2 separate regions of the Homo sapiens genome follow, and region 2 is linked to region 1. The links are contacts of gene promoters, found by promoter capture Hi-C in human tissues and cell types (Jung and others, 2019). All regions are on one chromosome and are shown on one strand. The core of a region is centred on a gene start or on the middle of the fragment in contact, and the rest is flanking DNA. Distances in the headings are between cores, read along the strand shown.

Region 1 (3,329 bases), core at 382-2,881:
TGTAGCATATTCATACAACAGAATATTATTCAGCCATAAAACCGACTGAAGTGCTGATGCTTGCTGCAACATGGATGAACCTTGAAAACATGCTAAGTGAAAGAAGTCAAACACCAAAGGCCACATTTTGTCTGATTCCATTCATATGAAAAGTTCAGAATAGTCAAATCTATAGAGACAGAAAGTATTAATATATTAGTTTGCCAAGGGTTGGGAGAAAATGGGGAAAGAGAAGAAATGGTATGACTGTTATTGAGTATGGAGTTTCTTTTTGGGATGATGAAAATATTCTGGAATTAGTGATTACAGTTGCACAACACTGTGAATGTACTAAAAACTACTGAAATGTACACTTTAAAAGGTGAATTCTGTGGTGTATGAATAACTTAATAAAGTTAAAACACCAGAGAGAATACTCCGGAGACTCTCTCCATCCAATAGCAGCTTGTGTCTTAACACTTGAAGGGTTATAATTCAGCCATCCAAACATCTCCCCCTACTCTAAGTATCAGAAACCTCAAAGAAGCATTTTGGGTGCTCCAGGAAGCCCAAAGGCTCCTCCTGGGAAAGGATGTCCTTGGGGCACAGCAAAGCCACTGCCACCCTACAGAGCAGTAACCAGAACAAAGGCCCTATGGCCTTGTGCCCAGCTCCACCCCTAACGCACCTGTCAGAGTCTCCTTTCAACAACAGAGGGAGGAGCAGCTGGGGGAGGGTCCCCAACAGAGCCTTCTGCTCTCACCTAAGCTTCTTGAAAGAACATGCGTAAGAGAGTGTCCGCCCCTAGGCTCAGTGGGCAGAGGCAAGTTCAGGTCCACCCCTGACCAGTAGGTCCCATGGTATCTCTCAACACCGCCTCCCCTCTGTAGTTCCCTGCATGTGGGCCTCATCTCCCTCAACAGTGGTTTATACATGAGGGGACAGGAAGGGAGGTAGAGTACCAGATTAGGAGTCAAAAGGTCTGTATCCTAGCCTGGAATCTCCGTCCATGTCCTCAAGTGCCTCAGGGCATCACAGGCTACCACCCAGCCTCCCTGACTCTCCAATCAGCCAGAGGGCCTTGCCCGTTCAAAGGAATCTCTCGAAATGAGGACTTCTGGAGGAATGTGAACTCAGAGAGGGCGGCTCCGCCCCGCTCACACTGCAGGCCCGGGCATCCCAGCGTCCTGCTGTACCTACCTGCTGGAGCAGGGTGTACCCTCAACAAGACCCCACGCAGCCACCCACTGCTAAGGACGTGGAGAATGGCTAGAGAGGCCCGATACCGGCCCCAGGTCACACATGAGTCGGGACTTGGTCGTGTGTCCCTCGCTAGGATGCAAACTATGGAGGCAGAGGCCTGTTTGTTCGCTCCAGAAACCCAGCGCAGGGCCTGGCACGCAGGAGGCGCTCAGAAAGTGCCCGACCCAGCGCCCCCTGCGCAGACAGTAAACTGGACCTGAAGAGGACCACCCTGGAACCTGGCGCCCCGCCCGCCCCTCGCAGCCATCGCTCTGGCCATTAGGCGCCCAGTGTCCCAGCGGGGAGACTGAGGCCTGGGGAGTTGCTCTCGGCTGGGCTTACCGCGCAGGGCGCAGCCATGGCGGGGCTGGCGGCGCCGAAGGCAGCTGCGGTGGCCGTTGCGGCCCGTTCAGTTTCCGCGCCCCCAACGGCCACCAATAGCAACGCGGGCCGCGTCGGCACGCCCCGCCCACCGCAATTAAAGGAGAAGCGCCTCAGCTTTTTGCCCGACGACTGGAAGCAGAGCTGTATGACCGGCGGCCGGCGCCACGGTCTCCGTGCCCAGTTCCCCAAGCCCAGACAACCCACAGACAGCGCAGCCAAAAGCCTCTGTCCGCCGCCACTCGTTCCGCCTGAGAAATTAAAAGACCCAGGATGAAGGGTTCACCCCACCAGCCCGTCGTCCGGCTACTCTAACGGCGAGCGCAGCCTCCTGGGAAATGCAGTTCCAAGCCGCCCACGCCCCTATGTCTGGAGGAAGGTGGAGCTACACTTCCCAACATGAGATTGCACCATTGCATTCCAGCCTGGGCAACAAGAGGGCGGGCCGGGTTTTACCACCCGAAGCGACGGCCTTAAGGATCCCGGAAGCGGAGGACACGTGGGTTGCTGTAACCAGATTGCGTTAAAGCACCCGCGCGCGCCGGCGCAGCCAGATTTTCCCCGCAGGAACCTATTGAGAGCTGAGTATTCGCCCCTCGGGAACTCTCAGTGGTTCGCCGTCCGAACGTTCTTAAGACAAGTGTCGATTTAAAATAACATGAGTTACTCGGAATCACAATCATGGAGTGGAGAGATCAAGGTTCGATTCTCAGTTCTCGCCCTGATTGGCTGTGTGATCTCAGGAAAAACGCCTCTGCTCTGTGCCCCGGTTTCCCCATTTGTAACACGAGGGAGTGTGGTGCAGCCCGGCCCTGTCAGGATCCTTAAGGCCTCAGAAGCTGTTAGAAACCCAGTCTTTAAAAGAAGGAGAGGCCGGGCTCAGTGGCTCACGCCTGTAATCTCAGCACTTTGCCACTTTGGGAGGCCGAGGTGGGTGGATCACCTGAGGTCAGGAGTATGAGACCAGCCTGGCCAACATGGTGAAACCCCATGTCTACTAAAAATACAAAAATTAGCCGGGCGTGGTGGCACGCGCCTGTAAACCCAGCTACTCGGGAGGCTGAGGGAGGAGAATTGTTCGAACTCCGGAGGCAGAGATTGCAGTGAGCCTAGATGTTGCCGCTGCACTCCAGCCTGGGCAACAGAGGGAGACTCCGTCTCAAAAAATATATATATATATAAAATAAAATTTGAAGGCCACCAGCAACCATCTGAATAGACTCCCTGCTTGGCCAGGGCACTCAAATTTAACCTGAAAGAGTGGTTCAGGCCATGATGGGAAGTGGGGGTTGGACATGCCTCATTATACCCTCCAGCATTAACATCAACAAAAACCTTAAGTCTGATAAGAAACATTTACGATCTATTTTCTCTGAAACCTGCTACCTGGAGGCTTCATCTGCATGGTAAAACCTTGGTCTCCATAACCCCTTATCTTAACCGAGATATCCCTTTCTACTGATAATAATTATTTCAACCAATTGCCAATCAGAATATGTTTAAATCTACCAATGACCTGGAAGTTTCCCACTTCGAGTTGTCTTGTCCTTCCAGATCAAACCAATGTAAATCTTACATGTATTGATTGATGTATTTTGTCTCCCTAAAATGTATAAAACCATGCTGTGCCCAGGCCACTTGGGCACATGTTGTCAGGACCTCCTGAGGCTGTGTCATGGGTGTGTCCTTAACCTTAGCAAAATAAATTTTCTAAGTTGACTGAGACC
Region 2 (3,329 bases), core at 523-3,022, 44 kb before region 1:
AGAACCACCAGAGCAGATCAGCCAGAGCCCTCCACCAGCAGCCCCACGATTCCCAGGGAGGAGTTGCAGAAGGCTGTGTCCCATGGGGTCAAACAGCCTCTCCTTTCCTGGAAAATGAAGTCGCAGACAGCTGTTATGAACCAAGGTTACATCACGTCTTCCCTTCCCTCCCCCTGCAGGCTTCAAAGACAGCCAGTGCCCCCCAGCGGATGCCTGGCCCAAGATAGCTGGCAGTAGCTAGCCCACCTGTGCCTGACCCACCTCCAGGAAGGAGCGAGGAGCTCACAGTACCAAACTCTCCTGGAGGACATCAGGAGTGTGGTGTGAGCCCAGACGCGCCCCCTTCCCCAAGCCCAAGACAGCTCCAGGCCAAAGCCCCCTCAGCTACTCCGCCTACCAGAACCATGGGTCGGGGAAGGGGGAGCAGAGAACATGGGTTTTCTCAAAGCTTTCCGCATCCTTATTTGAACAATGACACAATGTGGGAAAATGTGAATGTGGACTAGATATCTGATATGAAGGAACTATTAATTTCATTGGATGTGATAAGAGCACTGCTATTATATAACTAAGAAATGGCCTTATTTGGAGTAAAAAATGATATATCTGGGATTTTTAAAACCACTCAAACTCTTCTTTAAAATGTGGGGGAAACAGATGAAATGAGATTAGCAGAATGTTGAAGCTAGGTGAGTGGTACATGGGGTTTGTTACATTATTCTATCTTTTGTGCTAGCTTGAAATTTCCACAATACAAAGGTTTTTGTTTTGTTTTGTTTTGTTTAATTAAAACAAACAAACAAAAAAAAAAACCTTCCTGGTGACTGAAAGGAGCTGCGGAGCTGATCCAAGGCAAGTGGGACTCCAAGAGGAAGCTCAGCCACAGGATCACCTCCACTCTGGTGTCCTGGGATTTGCAAGCATAGGAGGCAGATGACTTTGTCTAAGTCCACGGAACGTTCTGACCAGCCTTTAGCACTGCCACAGAGAAAGCCCCTGATGGCAACGAGTACTCAGCGAATCCTGCAGCAATGTCCGGACCTTCAAAGAAACTAATTGTAAGATAATCTCCATGGAAACCATCTATTCTGATTTTTTTTCCATGGCAACCAATAAGAACATAAACACAAGCACTATCCAACACCCTTACACCACATGGCAATGCTGCTGTCCAATCTGGAAAATATAAACCACAAAGGGTTTTTTTCCATTTAAAATGAAAAGAAGTTCTGAAACTTCTAATCTAGGCATGCAGACTCTACCACCCTCTGTTGCCCTGCCACTGCCCACACCACCCCATGTCATCTGCCCCCCAAAACTGACAAATAAGGCCAGAAGGTAGCTTCCTTCTTTTAGTCTGAGACCATCAAAAATGCCAAAAGGAAAGACAGCCCGCCTCTAGCCTCACACACTCAACTTATGCTGCCCACAGACGTGAGAATGCTTTGACTTCCTGAGCATTTTTTATGTGTCAGACACATACTGAGCACCATGGCAAGAGCAAGGCCCCAGCCCTCCAGGGAGAAAAGTTAGGTCTGTAAATAACAGACAACAGGAGAGCGGGGCTGCTCCAGGTAGGAGAGTGCTCCAGGCAGGTGGAGCAGGAAGAACTCACCAGCTGCCAGCCTCCCAAGGAAGCCTGCATGGAGGAGGTGCCATCTGGAAAGAGACTATAAGGATGAGCGCAACAACACTAGGAGCAGTGAATGGTGGCCCCAAAAATCAGTCAGACTTAAGCGACAGGTTTATTTCTACCTGTGGCTCATTTATTTCATTTTCAGGTTTCTGAGCTTAAAAAAATAGAATGAAAACAAAAGAACAAAATAAAAGGGAAGAAAGATCCTTAAATGCCAAAGCCCTCGGTTCTTGTGCACCCTCTCTGCTTTGCAGCAAACAATTGTTACAAGACGATTCTTGTGGCCTCTGTGGGCTCTCCTGTGGAGAGGTGATGATGGGGCTTTAGATTGCCTGTCATCACTATTGGCAAAAAGGCAGTGTCATAGCAGTGGCCCCAGTGTGTGAAGCAAAAGGTCCTTCAAGGCATGCAGCCTGGCTCTGCCTGGGGCCATGTGTGCCTTGTAGGAAAGCATCACAGTGTTGAGACTCCACTTTCTGTCCTGTGACTCAGGTTCATTTCCCCACATGCACATGTGGAAGCTCCAATAACCCTAAGCCCAAGCTTTGGCTGCCAGGGGAAAAGGAAAACCCAAAACAGTTCTGGAACTCTCGAAAGAGATAACGAAGCTCTCAAAGGAGTGTGTGTGCCTGGGTTTATATGCCAAATGTGTACTGATGCACGCAGAGCTGGACCCAAGGGCCTCCAGCCTTTGTCTGAGTTCCTGAGTCAGGTTGCTCTGTCTTCCTGATACTGTGATTGTCTTAATATGCTTTTCCCTGGATGTCTGAGAACACACCTCCCATTGGTTTAAGTCATTAAATAGGCCTTCCTTCCTCAACATCATGAACTCTCCTCTGGAGAGGAACCTACTTGCTTTTAGAATGGATGGAAATTTTTCTAGTGACAGGAAACACCATTAGCCCCTCAAGGGGGCAGTTCAGAGAAGGGAGTTCTGGCTTCCACTCCAACCTTGCCACCTCTACCCTAATCGCTGTTTCAGGGCTTGTCTCTGCTCTTGCTACCTGGAGGCACCTCTTCAAGAGGCTCTGCAGGCCGGGCACGGTGGCTCATGCCTGTAATCCCAACACTTTGGGAGGCCAAGGCGGGCAGATCACCAGAGGTCAAGAGTTTGTGACAAGCCTGGCCAACATGGTGAAACCCTGTCTCTACTAAAAATACAAAAATTAGCCAGGTGTAGTGGCAGGTGCCTGTAATCCCAGCTACTCAGGAGGCTGAGGCAGGAGAATCTCTTGAACTGGAAGGAATAGGTTACAGTAAGCCGAGATCGCGCTATTGCATTCCAGCCTAGGCAAGAATGGCTAGACTCTGTCTCAAAATTAAAAAAAAAAAAAAAAAAAAAAAAGAGGCTCTGCAAATAAGACCTTCATCTGGGGTTCAAATGTTAAGCCATATACACCCAAGCCATCTCTGGCTCAGACAGAGACTCTCACCCATCTGCTTCCCTAAAGTCTAGCAGGCTGTCTGGAGGATGGGAGCTGGCCTAGGCATCCACATGTGCAGGGTGAGAAGTGGGAGACAGGACATCAAGACAGCAAGGGAGACACCAAGGATAACACAGGAGACAGGTGGCCTGGAGAACACAGATTCAAGAATAGGTGACTGGACTAATGGCAGGAGTACTAAGGGGCAGGACAGAAGCTGGGACAGAACAACAGGGCTGGCAGAGGCTCACAGCAGAGCCACAGCAAGT

The links. The method cuts DNA at HindIII sites, captures the fragments that hold promoters and counts their contacts. A contact is called where the count stands out against the background at its distance.
Region 2: a fragment that was not itself captured here is called in contact with the fragment with the promoter of POC1A in region 1 in 1 of the 25 tissues and cell types used here (dorsolateral prefrontal cortex).

What each region holds. Positions count from the first base shown.
Region 1 is chr3:52,152,792-52,156,120 of GRCh38, forward strand. POC1A (POC1 centriolar protein A) reads right to left here and starts at 1,632. Exons shown (of 11, transcript NM_015426.5): 1 at 1,564-1,632. The coding sequence starts at 1,581. RefSeq lists enhancers at 1,025-2,002, 2,003-2,979. The HindIII fragment of the contact is 12,174 bases long and covers 1-3,329 here.
Region 2 is chr3:52,108,696-52,112,024 of GRCh38, forward strand. All of the region lies in intron 9 of POC1A (POC1 centriolar protein A), which reads right to left. Among named protein-coding and RNA genes, the nearest start is that of POC1A, 44 kb to the right of the region's middle. The HindIII fragment of the contact is 6,699 bases long and covers 1-3,329 here.